Linked DNA regions of Homo sapiens: all the other regions are linked to region 1. The links are contacts of gene promoters, found by promoter capture Hi-C in blood cells and fetal thymus (Javierre and others, 2016). All regions are on one chromosome and are shown on one strand. The core of a region is centred on a gene start or on the middle of the fragment in contact, and the rest is flanking DNA. Distances in the headings are between cores, read along the strand shown. Region 1 holds the start of FOS (Fos proto-oncogene, AP-1 transcription factor subunit). Region 2 overlaps MLH3 (mutL homolog 3). Region 3 has its middle 22 kb from the start of BATF. Region 4 holds the start of ACYP1 (acylphosphatase 1). Region 5 overlaps JDP2 (Jun dimerization protein 2). Region 6 has its middle 7.6 kb from the start of JDP2-AS1.

Region 1 (3,200 bases), core at 179-2,678:
GGCCCGAAGAGTGGAGAAGGGAAGACCGGGGCTGTGCGGGGACATGCGTCTTCGCGCCCTGGAGGTGGCCAGCGCGCTGGGGCTGAGCCCCGGCAGCGTGACCCCGGCTGTCCTACGCAGCAGGGCAGGAGATTGGGGGGCGTGGCACACTCTGGAGCACCTTGCCTCCCCAAAGCCCCGTGTTCCAGGACGTGGAGCCGCTCCTGGGGTCCCAGCAGTCGAGGTATTCCGCCCAGGCGCAGCTGGACACTGTCCTTCCAGCCCCCGTCCTCCACCCTCCAAGTCCGCGCTGGAAAATCACCCGCTGCGGGCTCCCGTAAGCACAGCTTCCTGGCGGGACCGAACCAGCCCTCAGCGCAGATTTGAGTTCCCCGCAGGAAGCACACCCCGCCTTGTCATCCCGAACTGACCACCCTGCCCACATAACCACACCTCGCACTCCCTACCCCTGGGGCCCAGCTCAGAACCGGGCAGACACCCCCTTCAAATGTCTTCGCACGTAGGTTTTGCACAGTGTTTATCTGCTGGTGTCTCAGGGATTTGACAGTTTCCTTAATATTCCCACACATGGCCGAGAAAAATAAATAAATAAATGCGCTGTCTTCTTTAAAAAAATAAATAAATAAAGTACCCAGTATCGTAAAGTAGGTTATCGTATTCTCTTATTTTGGATCCTCCACTTTCTGCTTCCAAACGCAGGAACAGTGCTAGTATTGCTCGAGCCCGAGGGCTGGAGGTTAGGGGATGAAGGTCTGCTTCCACGCTTTGCACTGAATTAGGGCTAGAATTGGGGATGGGGGTAGGGGCGCATTCCTTCGGGAGCCGAGGCTTAAGTCCTCGGGGTCCTGTACTCGATGCCGTTTCTCCTATCTCTGAGCCTCAGAACTGTCTTCAGTTTCCGTACAAGGGTAAAAAGGCGCTCTCTGCCCCATCCCCCCCGACCTCGGGAACAAGGGTCCGCATTGAACCAGGTGCGAATGTTCTCTCTCATTCTGCGCCGTTCCCGCCTCCCCTCCCCCAGCCGCGGCCCCCGCCTCCCCCCGCACTGCACCCTCGGTGTTGGCTGCAGCCCGCGAGCAGTTCCCGTCAATCCCTCCCCCCTTACACAGGATGTCCATATTAGGACATCTGCGTCAGCAGGTTTCCACGGCCTTTCCCTGTAGCCCTGGGGGGAGCCATCCCCGAAACCCCTCATCTTGGGGGGCCCACGAGACCTCTGAGACAGGAACTGCGAAATGCTCACGAGATTAGGACACGCGCCAAGGCGGGGGCAGGGAGCTGCGAGCGCTGGGGACGCAGCCGGGCGGCCGCAGAAGCGCCCAGGCCCGCGCGCCACCCCTCTGGCGCCACCGTGGTTGAGCCCGTGACGTTTACACTCATTCATAAAACGCTTGTTATAAAAGCAGTGGCTGCGGCGCCTCGTACTCCAACCGCATCTGCAGCGAGCATCTGAGAAGCCAAGACTGAGCCGGCGGCCGCGGCGCAGCGAACGAGCAGTGACCGTGCTCCTACCCAGCTCTGCTCCACAGCGCCCACCTGTCTCCGCCCCTCGGCCCCTCGCCCGGCTTTGCCTAACCGCCACGATGATGTTCTCGGGCTTCAACGCAGACTACGAGGCGTCATCCTCCCGCTGCAGCAGCGCGTCCCCGGCCGGGGATAGCCTCTCTTACTACCACTCACCCGCAGACTCCTTCTCCAGCATGGGCTCGCCTGTCAACGCGCAGGTAAGGCTGGCTTCCCGTCGCCGCGGGGCCGGGGGCTTGGGGTCGCGGAGGAGGAGACACCGGGCGGGACGCTCCAGTAGATGAGTAGGGGGCTCCCTTGTGCCTGGAGGGAGGCTGCCGTGGCCGGAGCGGTGCCGGCTCGGGGGCTCGGGACTTGCTCTGAGCGCACGCACGCTTGCCATAGTAAGAATTGGTTCCCCCTTCGGGAGGCAGGTTCGTTCTGAGCAACCTCTGGTCTGCACTCCAGGACGGATCTCTGACATTAGCTGGAGCAGACGTGTCCCAAGCACAAACTCGCTAACTAGAGCCTGGCTTCTCCGGGGAGGTGGCAGAAAGCGGCAATCCCCCCTCCCCCGGCAGCCTGGAGCACGGAGGAGGGATGAGGGAGGAGGGTGCAGCGGGCGGGTGTGTAAGGCAGTTTCATTGATAAAAAGCGAGTTCATTCTGGAGACTCCGGAGCGGCGCCTGCGTCAGCGCAGACGTCAGGGATATTTATAACAAACCCCCTTTCAAGCAAGTGATGCTGAAGGGATAACGGGAACGCAGCGGCAGGATGGAAGAGACAGGCACTGCGCTGCGGAATGCCTGGGAGGAAAAGGGGGAGACCTTTCATCCAGGATGAGGGACATTTAAGATGAAATGTCCGTGGCAGGATCGTTTCTCTTCACTGCTGCATGCGGCACTGGGAACTCGCCCCACCTGTGTCCGGAACCTGCTCGCTCACGTCGGCTTTCCCCTTCTGTTTTGTTCTAGGACTTCTGCACGGACCTGGCCGTCTCCAGTGCCAACTTCATTCCCACGGTCACTGCCATCTCGACCAGTCCGGACCTGCAGTGGCTGGTGCAGCCCGCCCTCGTCTCCTCCGTGGCCCCATCGCAGACCAGAGCCCCTCACCCTTTCGGAGTCCCCGCCCCCTCCGCTGGGGCTTACTCCAGGGCTGGCGTTGTGAAGACCATGACAGGAGGCCGAGCGCAGAGCATTGGCAGGAGGGGCAAGGTGGAACAGGTGAGGAACTCTAGCGTACTCTTCCTGGGAATGTGGGGGCTGGGTGGGAAGCAGCCCCGGAGATGCAGGAGCCCAGTACAGAGGATGAAGCCACTGATGGGGCTGGCTGCACATCCGTAACTGGGAGCCCTGGCTCCAAGCCCATTCCATCCCAACTCAGACTCTGAGTCTCACCCTAAGAAGTACTCTCATAGTTTCTTCCCTAAGTTTCTTACCGCATGCTTTCAGACTGGGCTCTTCTTTGTTCTCTTGCTGAGGATCTTATTTTAAATGCAAGTCACACCTAGTCTGCAACTGCAGGTCAGAAATGGTTTCACAGTGGGGTGCCAGGAAGCAGGGAAGCTGCAGGAGCCAGTTCTACTGGGGTGGGTGAATGGAGGTGATGGCAGACACTTTTACTGAATGTCGGTCTTTTTTTGTGATTATTCTAGTTATCTCCAGAAGAAGAAGAGAAAAGGAGAATCCGAAGGG
Region 2 (3,200 bases), core at 491-2,990, 230 kb before region 1:
AAATTCCATTTTGGTCACCTGTGGCATCTTCTACCGGATTCATTAACATTCCACTGGGAGAGTCAAGACTTCCTATCTGTTGTTCTGAGGCTCTGATAAGAACATCTGAATCTTTACCGGTAACTTTAGAATTATTATAGGGCAATACCAAAGGAGTTTCTGATATCACACAGTTCTCTGTTGTATTGCTGTTAGAATGTGTTTTACTATTTTTATTAAAGGAATTATCCTGTGTGGCAGAATCTGATGTTGGGATGACACCATTCTCTGTTTTTTCATGCTTGTTGTTAAATAACATACAAAAATCTTGTGTTAACACACTGCACAACTTGCTGTCTTTCCTACTGGAATCTGAATTTGGAAGTTCATTAAAACGACTCATCATCCCCATTGTTTGAGTTTCTCTTTCGGAACCCTTCAGTCTGGATAATTTAGAGGCTAGTGATTCAGATGACTTCTCAAGGTCCAAAGGTTTTCTATTAAAGAGAGATAACTCCTTCAGGGTCATAGGACTTTCTCTCAAACTAGGCATCTGTTGTTCTAAACAATCTTCATCCTTGGAGAATGGAAACTTCTCTGAGTTAAGGATGTGGCTTGCTGGTTGACAACTACTATCTGAATCACTATGCTCCATAGTAGTGATTTTACAAACATCAGAGTTCTCTAAGCGGTTCTTGTCCTTCAGCAGAATGTCAGGTTCAACTTGAAGACTGAGATTGGTAGTGACTCCATTACTTTCCTCTACTTCTGTATCCAGAGGATTTTCAACCTTCCCATATTGCCTCTTAAACTTCTCTAAAGATCCTAGCTGTGAACTCAAGCTTAGCTTCTTACGGACGATTGGTTTGGAGAAACCAATTAATTTATCTGTTTTCCTACTATCATTGGAAACGTGTCTATACCAGGGGAAAGAGGGGGATGTATCAGATAATATGCAATCTGTTTGTGATTTTTTGCTACCTTCCTGAAAAGCAGAAAACATTGTATAAGTTGCTGTAGGTTCATTCTCTAGCCCATAACTTATATTCGTTCTGCAATTTTTTTTGTTGGGCAATTGACCAGATTCTTTACTTAAAGTGCTGGCTAAATCTTTGATGTCTGGAGTTTCAACTGAATGACGTGTTCTATTTCCAAATGTTTCTTGGGCACGTGTGGGACCAGGTCTAACATAATTTTTAAATGAATGTTCTGTTTCAGTTGATTTAGTTTTTTCATTTTGTACTACATGAGTTATAAAGCCAGTGGAACATAATTTAACTCGCCCATAACTAAAAACATTTCTTCTTCCACAATTGCTAGATTCTTTTTTTTTCTCTTTCTCTGTCTGAGCACTATGTACTCCCCATAATGTTGTTGCAAAAGGCAGAGGCTGGCATCCCACTTCAGTAGCATCTTTAAATCTCTTTGGTTGATTCTGAATTCTATTATTTTTCAAGATGTTGGCAGCCATGCCATTAACAGTAGTACTTTCTTTCCATATTTCTAGATCCTGCCCACTCTCCTCAAAGTGACATGGTGTCTGAAAAGGGCTTAAAAACATTTCTAAACTGGTTCCACACGGATTTTCTAAAGAGCTATGTTCCAGGAAAGATTTTTTATGTTTCTCATTTTCTCCAGCTTCTGATGCTACAATTGTCTCTTGTTCTAACATCTTTGATTCTGAGCAAGAGCTGTCTTTGTTTTGTAAAGATGGCTCTGTCATTTTGCTATGGCCTGGACCACCTGATTCATAAATGTACAAAAATGCATCATTTGTATTTTTTCTGGTAGCTTCTGAATCCCTAGAACTCTGTGTGTTTACGTTTTCTGCAGTAGTTTTTCTTTTCACAGCTTTTGACTGCAAATTAAACATCTCATAGGAATCTAAAATATTATTACATGCTTCCTGGAAATTGCTCCTCTCATCGGAAGTCACACGCTTCTGAAGAGTAGCATCAAATAAACTAAAACCATTATCTTCACTAAATTCCTTAATATCCTCACCTGATAATTCCACAAATAATTTTTCTTGCTTTAAAAACATTTTCACTCCTTCCTGAATGCAAAACAAGAGAGTGTCCCAGTTCTGAAATTCAATCAGAGTTTTGGCTGGCTCCATGCACACATCATACTCACAGAATTGGCACTGCACATTAATTACATATATGCCATAGAGTTCTGGGGTAGACCGGTGCCGAAGACTTGAATTCATTTGCCTACTGGTGGGACCATTCTTTGGCTTGCATATAATACTTTCTTTCCTTAATAAAAAGTCAATGAGTTTATGTAGCTTTGTCCTTAAAACTAGTCTTTTGTTCACAAACAAAAACTGCATATTCTTGTTGTAATGTGCTTCAGAGCTGATATAGCCACTAAGCTCAAACTCTTTATATTTAAAACTTATTTCTCTTAGCTTTTGGGACTTTCCCAATCCATAAATTTGACAAAATCGGGAACATACGTCTTTGGTTTTAGGGAGCTGAAGAACCATGGAACCAGAAACATCATTTCTCAAAGAGAAAGAAATGGAAGGGTGCATGAGTGAGAGAGCTTCTATTCTCTGCCTAACCTTCTCAAACTCCAGTCTAGGGTCCATGCATTTCCTCCTTACAGGAAGCTGGTAAAATAGGTTATACACTGTTACAGTAGTCCCAGCGCTTGCTCTAGTCACATCAGCTTCACAAGCTTTCAGGGCTTTTCCACTCTGAAACAGTTTCACAAAAGTTTTCATTGTCCTGTTTTTCTTGGACGAAATTTCCACAGCACTGGCCATGTCAGCAATATTTGCCAAGGCCTCTCCTCGGAAACCATAAAACCTTGGATTCTCCAAGTCCTGTACCGAGTGGCATTTACTGGTGAAATAACGATTTCCCACTTTCTCTACATCATCACTCCCCATCCCAAATCCATTGTCTATCACTTGAACTTGGAAGGTTTCCATATTCACCCTGACAGCCACACATTTTGCTTCAGCATCAATACTGTTGAGGGCAAGTTCCTCAACACATTGGCCCAAGGAGCTTATGGCCAAACCAGAACGCAATTTGGCTTGTACTTCAACTGACAAGCACTTGATCATGGTAGGTAGAAAGATGGTGAGAATGCCAGGCACTGGTTTCCTTCTCTGACTGGAAATAATTGCCTATTGGAGAAAAAAACCACACACGCACATAATCAAAGCTTTAGCATTACACAGCATTATGAAGAAATAGCACTTGAGG
Region 3 (3,200 bases), core at 228-2,727, 220 kb after region 1:
ACACCACCATGACCGTGTGCTTTTCTTTTTTTTTTTTTAAGTCAACTGGAACCTGGACTTTATGGTTTCAGGGCTGTCAACAGAAAATGTAGAATTCACGTAGCTGCGGTCTTGCTGTGAAATTTTTGGGTAGAGTGAGCTGAACTTTCTGCCTGGACCATCTGTCCTGAACACCATACACAGCAGAAAATGGTCGAGCTTTGTCTGGGTCCAGGACATCCAGGCCAGCAAATGGCGGAGACATCATGCTGAGTAGGGGATACGGAGTTTTCCAACCACATCACAGGAACTTTCCCGGGGCTCAGGGCTCAGCTCTCAGTGTCATTAAGGTAGTTAGAGAATTGACTCTGACGTTGTTCTCTTTGTCTCTGGCTTGAGAGTAGGGACTGTTGGAAGCACTGGGACCTTATTTTGCCCTTGGGGCTGAGCTCTTCACAAAGGAGATGCCTAATGAGGCTTGAAGATGGCGTCTCCCTGAGCTTTTTCAGAGGAATCCAGGAGCAGCGGTGACAACTAAAAGGTAGCGGCAGTGACACCAACACAGCAGACATTTAAGGAGCGGTGACCACGTGCTCAGGCCTAAGCGCTTTCTAGTCATCATCTCATTGAACTCTCCCAACAAAGCGTGTGGCTACTTTTATTATTCCCACTCCACAGATGACGCCTGAGCCTGGGAGAGGCTTTCTCAGAGTCCCACAGCCATTTGTAGAGCTGGGGTTGCCAGGAGTCCCGGGCCCCAGGCTCCAGTCGCTCTTCCCACCATAGGAGCTGGCAGGACTGGGCTTTGGAACCTCACCTCCTACCAGCGTGTTTTTGGAAGTGGCTATTCTTTTAGGTTCTGCTAACCAAGCCAGGACTAAACCAAAAGGAGAACTCACAAAAGGGTAGCCTTAGGATGTTCACTCAAAACTGCAGGGCATACAATGGTAAATAAGTAAATAGGTTTAAATGGTTTTTAAATTTTAATTAAAAAAAAATAAGGCTGGGCATGGTGGCTCACACCTGTAATCCCAGCACTTTGGGAGCCCGAGGTGGGCAGATCACTTGAGGTCAGGAGTTTGAGACCAGCCTGGCTGACATGGTGAAACCCTATCTCTACTAAAAATACAAAAATTGGCCAGGCATGGTGGTGCGCATCTGTAATCCCAGCTACTCAGGAGGCTGAGGCAGAAGAATCGCTTGAACCTGGGAGACAGAGGCCGTAGTGAGCTGTGATCATGCCACTGCACTCCAGCCTGGGTGACAGAGCAAGACTTCGTCTCAAAAAAAAAAAAATTAAAATTAAAAACAAAACTGTAGAGTATTATCTAAGCCTGGTCATCTTATGCTTTCCGGGCAACACTTTCGGATCAGGAATAAGATGTGAGAGTCCAGATTGAATCAGTTTATCTGTTGGAAGGAGATAAAAGGAGAAAGTTTTTCCAAGCAGCTCCTAAGGGGGAGATTTTTTTGTTGTTGTTGCTATTGTTCTTAACTACTATAAAAATGGTTCATGTGTGTGGTAATAAAATTTCAAACAGTTACAAAAGGATAAAGAAAACATAAGTTTTCCACATCTCCCGGCCTACCCCTAGACTGACTCTTTAGACGTAAACATTTAAAATCAGATCTAGGTTTTGTCCTCCTGTGGTTATAGGCAGAATTCTAAAATATGTTTATACTTCTCTCTCTTAGTTTATCTACTTTAAAGATTGTTTGAAAACTCCTTTATACTTTGAATATTGAGGAATTTAACTCAGTTATATTTCACCGCATGTTCTCCCTCCCAATTTTTATTTTTATATTAAGTCTATCGGAATCTTTATAACTTTAAATAATATACTTACATCTCAATTTCTTGGCCCGTCACCTTTTACAGTATGTCTAACTTACAAAGTGTAAGTTCAGGAAAATACACAAGGCAGACTTCCTTCTGCCTTGTAATGGACACTGTGGTGTGGCGTGCTGCCCAGATCCCTTTCAGGACCAAGGCCTTGATTCCCCAACTTTGGGGAGTGCTGGCAGCTAAGAGGTCTCAGCTGAGTCCCTCTCCAAGAATTGCTTTTGGCTGAAGGGAGTTACCTGGAGATTATGTGAGAGATTATGCCACCTCCCAGAGGGCAGCCCATATCCAGTGACTGGTCAGTATGGGTTATGTGTTATAATGGTGTAGCCAGCCTATTGGCCTCAATGGAGCAACTTTGAAGAGCCATCTGCCTCCTCCCAAACTTCTTGCAGCATTGACTGGGGCCTTGTATCTACTCACTCCTCCCCTGCCTGGTCTTGGCTCCCTCAACTCTCACAGGTGATGTTTCTGAGAACACTCTCCAACAACCTCCCTATACCCAAGTCTTAGAGTCTCAGAGTCTGTTCTCTGGGGAACTTATAAATACCTTCTCTGTATCTCCTATTTCTATTTCTGATTATGGTCAGCTAATAAACAATTACTTTTAATTTTTTTTACTGTGAAATATTTCAAACATACAAACAAGAAAATATAATAATAAAATTAAAACCGGAAGAAACACCACTATAAATAACATTGTCATTTTTTATTCTACCATGACTTTATTATATTACTTTACTATAACTTAGTCTTCCATGCTTTATTCAAAGATTGTTCCTAAGAATTGAAAACAGAAGACAGTAATTACAATAATTTTATTGTGTATTCTTTAGTGACAATCTAAATAGTGAGGTTTGACCTGCAGACAAGCAAATGTAATCCTATGCTATTCAAACTGAGCCGCCTAAAGGGAACTGTTGCAAGATCAAATGTCAAATGGATTTTTTTTATTGTTACAATCTACCAATTGCATAAAATTGTATTACATTTTGGTTTGCTTCTTTTTCAAATTACAACTTTCTATATAGATTTTTACTGGAGTCACCTTTGTTTCATCTTGGTGACAAAATAACATAAACTTTTCCTACTATGATCATGTAGCATTTTATCACCCATTTTTAAAAATTTTTGGGGAAAAAAGCAAATCAATCAAAAAGTTGCTATACTAGAACAGTGAGCCTCCATTCTGTAATAGGTTCACCAGTTTTAAACACAAACACACACACACACACACACACACACACACACACACACTCTTACATATTTCTTTGTAAGCCATTAGAAAATAACTTGTAGAGAACATGACCTATCAGTCTTAAGTACTTCAGTGTACATCTCCTAAAGACAAGGACATAACCACAATGTCATTATCACA
Region 4 (3,200 bases), core at 284-2,783, 210 kb before region 1:
AGAAACCAGGAAAGCAGAAGAGTGAAGGGCTATTATTCCAGGACCCGCAAGCCTGAGTCAGAAAGGGCCACACCCACCCCTGTCCATCCTTAACCATTGCGACCTCTCCCCGACTTCAAGGTCCTGGAAATGGAAACGTGAGTGGATGTGATAAGGTGTGTGTGAAGGAAGAACCAGACGCCGGGAGAGGGAGCTTCGGATCGCAGCTGCCCGCTGAAGCCTCTTCTGGGGAAATAACCTGAGGACCGATGACCTCCTTACATCCATGCCCGGTCCCGCTCCCTCACTACCAGAATTCCCTGCTACTAACTCCCAGAATCCCCTGCTACTAACATTTTAGGGCTAATCGACCTGAGAAGCACACCCTGGGGGCCCCTGGCGGCTCACCCTCCTTGTCTTCCCCACCGGCTGCCAGGATCACTCCGGGACCACCACGCCAACGGCTCACCAAGGCGCGCAAACCTCCGCGCCCGGAAGTTTAGTGTGTAGCTGCTCCTTCGCTGTCGCTCATGCCCATCACCTCCAGCTGACCAATCAGAGACGGCGCCTCGGCCCGGGCCCGCCCAGAAGGTGGGATTTCAGGACGCGGTTGTCCGGCAACCCAAAAGCTTTGGGTTGGGGATCTGTCCAGGAACTCGGCTGGGCCTCCACAAACCTAGCCCTCATCGCATCTCAGTCAACAAGCGCAACCCTCTTCTCATTTTCTCATGAGGAGAAAGGCATAGACGAAGAAGTACATGGGGATACATTCAATCATTCAATTAAATACTGACTGACAGCTACTGTGTGCCAGGCACCTGTTCTAGGTGACCAGGCAAACATCAGTGAACAAAACAGGATCCCTGTCCTGAGGAGCTTAATTCTGGAGGTGAGAGACAAACAGCACACATTAAACATCATAAATAGCTTGTAATCTCAGCACTTTGGGAGGCCGACACGGGCGAATCACTTGAGGTCAGGAGTTCGAGAGCAGCCTGGCCAACATGGTGAAACCCCGTTTCTACCAAAAATACAAAAATTGGCCGGGCATGGTGGCGGGCGCCTGTAATCCCAGCTACTCGGGAGGCTGAGGCAGGAGAATCGCTTGAACCTGGGAGGTGGAGGCTGCAGTGAGCCGAGATTGCCCCACTGCACTCCAGCCTGGGCAACAGAGGGAGACTCTGACTCAAATAAATAAATTAATAAATAAAAAAATAAACATCATAAATATGTTGAGTAGGATACATTTAACCTTTCTGTCCTTTTTCATTCAGTTCTCCTTAAAGTTTGGGTCATAACAATCTGGAATAGGGGATTACGGGGCATAAGTGCACAGGAGGTCCCAATGGAGGTTATGTCTGCTTCTGGGCTTCTGGAAGCTACTCACCGGTCTCCTTTACTAAGAAAATGTCAAATAATGCTTGAACAAATAACCAGCTAACTACACAAATAAAGCAAGAGCACAAGCAAAATAACTCATGGCTCCAGAATTACAGTTGAGTCAGTCAATCTAAGCCAAATGGCCAAACTACACGAATTTATTTTGGGAACAGGGAATTGTCAAGGGGGATGTGGATGAAGATGGTTAAAATTAGAGTTGATGTGTAAACATTTGAATCCAGCTACCCTTATGATTCATGTGTGTGAAGGAAAACTGTGGTGTTTATTGATCCTCTGTGGATTGACTGTATACATTACACCTCTTCATAACGTAAAGACTCCTTATGTGAATATGCCAGGTTGGCAGACTTGACAATGAGATATGGGTTTGTGACAGTAGGCACGGAAATTCATCATTCTGCTAGTTCCCCGCTAGAGTGAGGATCCATATCCTAGAGAATCATACAACCTTAGTGCTGAGAGGTGGGGGGTTGGTGGTGAACAAGCTGGATTGAATGTTGTACTTGGCAATATTTGAAAATAACTCTAAATAGAGTATCTTGCTAATGGTATTTCTTTCTCTAAAATTCATTTAAAAAATAGTTTATAGAATTCAAAACTTACTGAGTGTCTAATACGAATGGGGCACTCTAGGATATACAAAGATGAATGATATAAAATCTTTGCCCTCAAAGAGTTTTTAATTTAGTGTAGGGGCACAAATGCATGCAAATAATGACAATAAAATATATGGCATGATAATTTAATTCCATGAAAATCCATTGAGAGCTCATCAGGAACCAGCCCTGTGCTATAACAAGGACAGAAAATATTACAAAGGAGCAAACAAATTAATTCTGATTGGGAAGACAGGGAAAGAGTTCTTGGAGGAAACAGCATTTAATCCAAGGTCACACAACCAGTAAGTGATGGAGCTGGGATTTGGTTCCAGAGTCAATCCCCATGAATGCTATGCTCTACCAGCTCCCAGTATGTGGAGCTTAGAGTAATGTAGTACCATGGAGATGAAGAAGTACAAGTAGCCAGTTGTGGCTAGACCAGGGGTTTGCTACCCTGCTTGTGCATCAGGATCTTTGGGGAAGCTTTAAAAATGTTAATCCTCAGGCCTCACCCCTAGATATTGCTTTCCAAGTAGTCTTAACACACAGTCAGGGATGAGACTCACTGGGTTGAACTCTGTGGCTTATTAAGGGGAGGCAAAACTGAAAAGGTAGGCTGGACCTAATCTGGGAGGTAGAGATGCCATGCTAAATTATGCATTTCAACTTTATTCTATAGGTAAAGAAGAAGCTACTGGGGAGGGAAATGGTAGGATCAGAAGCATTTAGTAATTAGCTTGATTTAATCACTGCACAATGCATACATTATCAAAACATCACTTTGTACACTGCAAATATAGATATAATTTTTGCTTGTCAATTATATTTTAATAAAGCTGGGGGGGGGTGGAGAAATATTTAGACTGATTATTTTGCCTGCAGCATGAAGGATGGGTTTGAAGAGCAGATATTGAAGGCAAGAGCAGAAGTTAGGAGGGCTATGCCATCCCAAGGAGAAGTGAGGAAAAACTCACCTGGGGCAGCAGAAATGTAAAGGAAGAGTCATATATGAGAGACATTGCAGAAGTAAACTCAATAGGCCAGGCGTGATGGCTCACGTTTGTAATCCCAGCACTTTGGGAGGCTAAGGCAGGTGGATCACCTGAGGTCAGGAGTTTGAGACTGATGAAACCCCATCTCTACTAAAAATACAGAAATTAGTTGGGCGTGGTGGTGCACACCTGTACTTCCAGCTACTAGGGAGGCCAAGGCAGGAGGATT
Region 5 (3,200 bases), core at 370-2,869, 160 kb after region 1:
AAGGCTGAATACATGTTGCCTATGATTGGGTCAAGCATTGCCTTCAAAATAAAAAAGGCAGACACTTCTGGCAGTGCCAAGGGTGACCTTGGTGTGAGTTAATTGAGCAACTTTTCCTCTATAACAGGAAGGACTTTACGGCAGGAAGAGCAGCTGGGTGGGAAAGGGATTCAGGGGAACATTGGTGAAAGAAGCCACAGTCCTGGCAAGACGAGGGACTTGAGCCCTCCTGGAGCCCCCAACCTGGCTGACTGTCCTGCTCTTTTCCTGCCCACTCCAGGCTGGCCTGCCACTCCTCCTGCTATGATGCCTGGGCAGATCCCGGACCCTTCGGTGACCACAGGCTCCCTGCCAGGGCTTGGCCCCCTGACCGGGCTCCCCAGCTCGGCCCTGACTGTGGAGGAGCTGAAATACGCTGACATCCGCAACCTCGGGGCCATGATTGCACCCTTGCACTTCCTGGAGGTGAAACTGGGCAAGAGGCCCCAGCCCGTGAAAAGTGAGGTGAGCGAGCCTTTTACCCCTGGCAGATTCCAGGTCTGGCCTTAAACCCACCATGGGACCTTAACCTTGCTGTTCAAAGTGTGGTCTGAGGACCAGTATCATCCGTACCACCCTGGGGTTATCAGAAATGTGGAATCCCAGGCCTCGCCCCAGGCCTTCTGTATCAGAATCTGCATCTTAACAAGATCCCCCAGGGATTCGTGGACGTATTAACACTTGAGAAGCACTGGGCCAGGGGAGGATGTTTAACCTGTCTCTGGTTCTCTGGGGGGCGGTGGAAGAGTGATAATAATGACAGTAATGAATAGTAATATCTTGGCCATCTCTCTGGGGTGGTGGGAGGATTGGGGAGATAATGGGAATGGGAATGTGTACATGTTTTGAAAAGTAGACAAGAGAATGCCAATATTAGGTTATCTTTTAAAATTGTTATCATTAGTCACATCGTGACCTCCACCCCTCTTGGCCCTTTCTGCAGCTGAACCAGGGAACTTGGAGGAAGAGTAGCGTGGCCTCCCTTCCCAAGCAGCTGCCAGAGCTAGGCATGGCCTCGGTCAGCCAGCAGTGTCCGCCTTAGATGGCGTTTGCCCGGGACCCACACGTGGAGCACCCACATGTGGCATTTGCAAGGAATTCCTCCTCAGGTCCCTTGCACCTGCAGCTCTCATGAGCCCTTTTTCTCGGGGCACTGGTGAGCAGCAGCAGTCCCCGGCATGGCTGAGGATCTGTGCAGGGCATGCCCCCGGCGACTTGCCCAGGGCTGGCCGTTTCTCTGAAGGCCTGTCCCAGCAAGGTTCCCAGCAGCGCCGTTTCTTCAGAGGCCTGCCAGAGTAGCTGCCCCCTGGAAAGGAGGAGCCTGTGGTGGGAGGTGGGGAAGAGGCTGGGATCGGGAGGGCGCAGGAAGCAGCTGAGCATCTGGGAATGGTAGCTCTGCTTGGAGGGAGAGTTCACAGGCAAAGATGAGCCTGGGGGGAGCTCGGAGGGCTGAAGTGCTGGAAGTGCTGGAGAGAGGACTTTCTTCGTGGAGAAGGGTGTCTGGGTACCCGTAGGGGAGAGCTGGGGATATTAGGCAACTATCTCTCAGCTCCCCTTCTCCTGATAGGTACCTAAAAACTGCAGAGGACTGCTGGGGGCTTGGCTGTGGTGGCAAACTGGCCGTGGTGGCAAACTGGCCATTTGCAGGCTGGACCTGGCTCTCAGATGTATTTTGTTTGGCCGGCTCAGTGTTTTAAAAGAAACGCGAACCCCCATTTCATTTGAAAATTTTGATTAAAAAATTGTAAGATCTCATCATACACTACCCTGTTCTGGCATGGTAATGGCTAAGTGGGGTGGACAGAGGCACTTCACTGTTTCCTCTTTCCAGTGGGCCACAGGCCCCTGCACCTCCCTGTTATTCGTGATCCTACTTACATTGTTGGTTTTGCTTTTGCTACTACCATCTGCCTTCATTTACCTCTACTGCCTGGTCCCTGTTAGCCATTTGTGCTCAAGACACGTGGATAAGGTCCATCATAGGTGCCTACTAAAGACTGTGGATTACAAGCTGTGAGTTGATGGTGATTACATTCTTCTGAATTGATCTTGTAAGCCAATGTGTCGTTGGGGCACATCCCGGCTTATATAGTGTTCTGTCTTCACGATGGAGGGTCCTTGTCTTTTGGCCCTCTGCTCCTCACCTTCCCAGGTCTGTAACTTGAGAGCATCTGTTTCTGGATCATTCCACAGTAAAATTGCCATTTAGAGCCAGTAGCTGAGCAGTTTCATGGGGGCACTAAGGCTGCGCATGGGGTTGATGAAGAGCCAGGTGTCTTGGGCAGAGGTCGTCAAGCTGGGATTCGCCTGGGGGGCTGAGTTAACACCTCTCTCCTCTGCAAAAGGCACTGGAGGAACTCTTCCCTTTTTTTATTTTTTATTTTTGGAAAAGCCACTTTTATTTGGGTTGGGTATTTTTACATTTTACAGCCACCCCCAAATTGGTGGCATCTGCCCTGTACCCGACAGTGACGTGCTGTCCTCACAGGCACCCACAGACGTGCACCATCCAGGCCGCAAAAATAACAAGCCGTTTTTAGGGCATATTTGCATGTCCTCTCCCTCGCTGTCAGACTGCAGTGTTGTGGGGGCGAAGAGGCAGATGGAGCTGCGAGATTGTACCGATGTAGAGAGATGCCAGCCCTGCACTGCGAACCGACCTCCAAATGCTTCCTAGGTCAGACCCCAGGGGCGGGAAGAGCTAATTCTTGGAGTAACTAAAACCTAAAGCGGGGTGGGGAAAGAAACTTGCAGCTGAAGAATCTATGGTCTGAAGATCTATTTGCATATGGCAAACTGCCTTGAGCGGATTTTCATATTGGCATTTTAGACTAGTAAAAGTTTCTTTAATAATAATCAGATACTAGCTCATTAAGCATTTAATATGTCCCAGGACCTGCACAAAGTGCTTAACATGCATGACTTCATTCATTCCTTATTCAGTCCTGGAGTCCAGGTTACCCCCATAGTAGAGAAGAGTTTGAGGTCTAGGGAGGGGGTTCAGTCACTCAGGGTCACACTGCTGGGAAGTGATAGCGCTGGGGCCTGGTGTGGTGGACGATGGCTGCCGTTACAGCCGGGTCTCACTTGTGCTGAGCTAAGCCCTAGGCACGGTACTAGGTCTCTTTGTGAAGTACCTTGTTTACCCTGCACAAGTACCC
Region 6 (3,200 bases), core at 399-2,898, 140 kb after region 1:
ACTTAGGATGACTTTTTATTCTTTTTTTGCCCCCTAACTTTTTAAAGTTTATTTTTTGTGGAGACAGAGTCTTGCTATGTTGCCTAGGTTAGTCTCCAACTCCTGACCTCAAATGACCCTCCCACCTTGACTTCCCAAAGTGCTGAAATTACAGGTGTGAGCCACTGTGCCAGGCCATGTAGGAAGAGCTTTTAAAAGGGTAACTGCTCCTGTGCCAGTGGAGTGGGATAGTCCCAGGGCACCAAGCTGATTTGATTAAGAGTTTCCGACAAAGGGAGGAAGGCTGGTTCCAATGGTTTTTATTTATTTATTTTTAACTATTATTTTTTAATTTTTCTTTTCAAGTTTCCAATGATCCAATTGTTTTTCTACCTGTCTCTTAACACCTCTCAAAACTCCCTTTTATGCTTATAATTATTTAGTTAATTAGCTAATTATTCATCCACCTAAGGACTGGGCCAGTCTTTCTCATCATTTCATGATGCTGTGAGCCCTGCACATAGAAATAATCAAATATTTATTGAATGAATGAATGAATGAATGACTGAATGAAGGAATGAATAAAAATCCAACTCTGTGGTCTGAAATATACTCTCGTACACGGCAGGGCACAAACATAACAAGCTGGCATTTGAGGAAGTATTTGAAAGGAAAGGCTGGCTTTAAAAAGGAGGAAGGAGAGGATTAGGAAGGTGTATTTAAGAGATAGAGAAACGCTGGCGGGAGGAGATGGGTGGGGGAATCGTGGGCACAAAACCTGAAAGGAAGCCTGTGAACCTGGCCAGGGCTACCAAAGAAGCCCTTGTCCCAAGGTCCCCTCCAGAGGCCTTCTGACCGCCCTCAGCGCCCACCTCCCACCTCCAGCTCACCCCTGAGGCCAGCGCAGAGGTGTCTCCTCTTACAGGAGTGCATTCTAATTGCAAAATCATATCCTCGTTTTTTAAGGAGAGCCAATTCCTCCAGTTCCGAGTGTGGGGGCCTTTTCTGGTCTATGGGGACCTATTCTGGTCTCAGGGGGTGAGTTTCCAGGAGCCCAGGGACTCAGCGGGGAGGGCGGCTCTCTAGAAGGTACACTTTGGCTGACTTAGGGCAGGGTGCTGAGACATGCAGGTGTCAAAACCTGGCCCGGATTGCCTGGAGCTGGAAGAGCCTTCCAAGAAGTGAAAATCCCACCCCTCCCCCGCCTAGGCCCACACAACAGCCCAGTCATAGGGGCCTCCTTGGCTCCTCCCTACACCTCTCTCTACCACACCACCAAATTGTTGAGTGTAAGAGGAAACGCTACCTCCCGCAGAAAACCTAAAGGGACTTTTTTTCCCCTTCAATAAACATTTGCTGAAATAACTTTTTATTGGTGGTTGTTTTAAAATGCATAGCAGAAAAAGAGTCCTGAGAATTATTTCCACCATAACTTTTGTTCAATGAGATCTGTGTCATCAGTGGGGACCTCAATTTCCTCATCTGTAAAATATGGCCTCTTCCTTGCTTTAATATTCTACAAGTTTGTGCTGCATAAGGTGTGACTGATAATTACATCTCTGCTCAACAAGCATCTGTTCAACAAGTATTCTTTAAGTGCCAAGAGCCCAGACTGCTTTCAACATTATCAGGGACACAAAAGAAATGATTTCCTTCCATTTTTATTTAAATAAATGCAATCATATATTTGGCACATTGAGTGCCAAACATAAGCTCAGCACATGGTAGGTGCTATAGGAGTTTAAAAATTTTAAGATACTGTCCCTACTGATAACTTCAAGCATGTTGGAATGATAATGCATATGTGAAATAAGGAGAAAAATTTTAAATGGCATATGATTAGATGTTAGAAGGGAAATGCTAGTTAAGGTCAGAAGAGGGAGAAATCCCTGTGGGTTTGACCCATCTGAGAAGGTGACAAAGTAGGGGACTTGAGCTGACTGAACCATAATGTTGATGGTTATGATGGTGATGGTGGTGGTGGTGACGAACACAGCCAAATGTATTGGGCTTGTGGCAGGTATTGATATGGTGCTTCATAAGATCGTATTTAATCTTCACATAAACCCTCTAATGTAGGCACCATTATTGTCCACATTTAACTGTTGAGGAAACTGAGGCCCAAACTCTTTTTTATTTTTTTTGAGATGGAGTTTCGCTCTTGTGGCCCAGGCTGGAGTGCAATGGCGTGATCTCATCCCACTGCAACCTTCGCCTCCTGGGTTCAAGCTATTCTCCTGCCTCAGCCTCCCGAGTAGCTGAGATTACAGGCACCTGCCACCATGTCTGGCTAATATTTTTGGTATTTTTAGTAGAGATGGGGTTTCACCATGTTGATCAGGCTGGCCTCAAATTCCCGACCTCAGGTGATCCATCCACCCCAGCCTCCAAAAGTGCTGGGATTACAGGTGTGAGCCACCACACCCAGCCCCAAACATTTTATGGAAGAATCTAACCAACCTATATAGCAACATCTTCTGGGAGTGGGAGACGGGGATGAAGAAGAAAGAAAAAAGTGGAGAAGGGTCTTCGGTTTTCCTAGAAGCAGCATTGTGTGAGTGCAAAGTGAAAACATCTTTGTAGTATAATATCTAATGCATGTATTTTCAGATTAAACCCTCTCTTAAAAATAACTTGAGGCCTCTCTAGACTGTACATTTTTATAGCTATAATGTACTCTTTCAGATCTGAGCAAATACCACAAACTCATCTCAGATCTTATCTCTGACAACCTGGTTTGACCTTCATGATAGTTGGGAAGCCTGTGTTAAAGGAGAAGGGATTTGAGGAGACTTGCGATTTTGTGATTGTGCCTTTCTTTCTTTGATCTTCTAGGACACCTTTTGTCTCCTAACTCCTTTATCTCCTAAGACTGAGTTCTAGACTAGCTTCTGTTTATTTATTTATATATTTATTTACTTATTTATTTAAAGCATAGGGTCTTGCTCTGTAGACCAGGCTGGAGTGCAGTGGTGCAATCATAGCTCCCTGCAGCCTCAAACTCCTGGGTTCAGATGAACCTCCTGTCTCAGCTTCCCAAGTCGCTGCAACTACAGGTGTGTGCCACCACACCTGGCTTGTTTTTGTTTTTGTTTTTTGAGACAGGGTCTCACTCTGTCATCCAGTCTGCAGTGCAGTGATAAAATCTTGGTTCACTGCAACCTCCGCCTCCTGGGTTCAAGTGATTCACCCACCTCAGCCTTCCCAGAAGCTGGGATTAC

What was found. The method cuts DNA at HindIII sites, captures the fragments that hold promoters and counts their contacts. A CHiCAGO score of 5 or more calls a contact.
Region 2: a contact is called between a fragment that was not itself captured here and the fragment with the promoter of FOS in region 1, in 1 of 17 cell types (monocytes). The highest score is 5.1, in monocytes.
Region 3: a contact is called between a fragment that was not itself captured here and the fragment with the promoter of FOS in region 1, in 4 of 17 cell types (activated CD4 T cells, monocytes, neutrophils and 1 more). The highest score is 8.0, in activated CD4 T cells.
Region 4: a contact is called between a fragment that was not itself captured here and the fragment with the promoter of FOS in region 1, in 4 of 17 cell types (monocytes, erythroblasts, activated CD4 T cells and 1 more). The highest score is 9.1, in monocytes.
Region 5: a fragment that was not itself captured here is called in contact with the fragment with the promoter of FOS in region 1 in 1 of 17 cell types (monocytes); the score reaches 7.8 in monocytes.
Region 6: a fragment that was not itself captured here is called in contact with the fragment with the promoter of FOS in region 1 in 1 of 17 cell types (monocytes); the score reaches 7.4 in monocytes.

Annotation. Positions count from the first base shown.
Region 1 is chr14:75,277,400-75,280,599 of GRCh38, forward strand. It overlaps FOS (Fos proto-oncogene, AP-1 transcription factor subunit), which reads left to right and starts at 1,429. Exons shown (of 4, transcript NM_005252.4): 1 at 1,429-1,724; 2 at 2,478-2,729; 3 at 3,161-3,200. The coding sequence starts at 1,584. RefSeq lists silencers at 1-102, 831-920, 1,271-1,330 and enhancers at 1,419-2,346, 1,701-1,760, 2,347-3,200. The HindIII fragment of the contact is 6,704 bases long and covers 1-3,200 here.
Region 2 is chr14:75,046,598-75,049,797 of GRCh38, forward strand. MLH3 (mutL homolog 3) reads right to left here. Exons shown (of 13, transcript NM_001040108.2): 2 at 1-3,121. The coding sequence starts at 3,058. Among named protein-coding and RNA genes, the nearest start is that of MLH3, 3.3 kb to the right of the region's middle. The HindIII fragment of the contact is 1,843 bases long and covers 820-2,662 here.
Region 3 is chr14:75,499,287-75,502,486 of GRCh38, forward strand. No RefSeq gene overlaps it. Among named protein-coding and RNA genes, the nearest start is that of BATF, 22 kb to the right of the region's middle. The HindIII fragment of the contact is 4,882 bases long and covers 1-3,200 here.
Region 4 is chr14:75,063,567-75,066,766 of GRCh38, forward strand. It overlaps ACYP1 (acylphosphatase 1), which reads right to left and starts at 458. Exons shown (of 3, transcript NM_001107.5): 1 at 388-458. RefSeq lists an enhancer at 629-798. The HindIII fragment of the contact is 1,854 bases long and covers 607-2,460 here.
Region 5 is chr14:75,437,618-75,440,817 of GRCh38, forward strand. It overlaps JDP2 (Jun dimerization protein 2), which reads left to right. Exons shown (of 4, transcript NM_001135048.2): 2 at 281-504. The coding sequence starts at 304. Among named protein-coding and RNA genes, the nearest start is that of JDP2, 11 kb to the left of the region's middle. RefSeq lists enhancers at 1-329, 1,337-1,839, 2,679-2,888, 3,043-3,200 and a silencer at 3,079-3,128. The HindIII fragment of the contact is 3,402 bases long and covers 1-3,200 here.
Region 6 is chr14:75,418,413-75,421,612 of GRCh38, forward strand. No RefSeq gene overlaps it. Among named protein-coding and RNA genes, the nearest start is that of JDP2-AS1, 7.6 kb to the right of the region's middle. RefSeq lists an enhancer at 795-844. The HindIII fragment of the contact is 4,896 bases long and covers 1-3,200 here.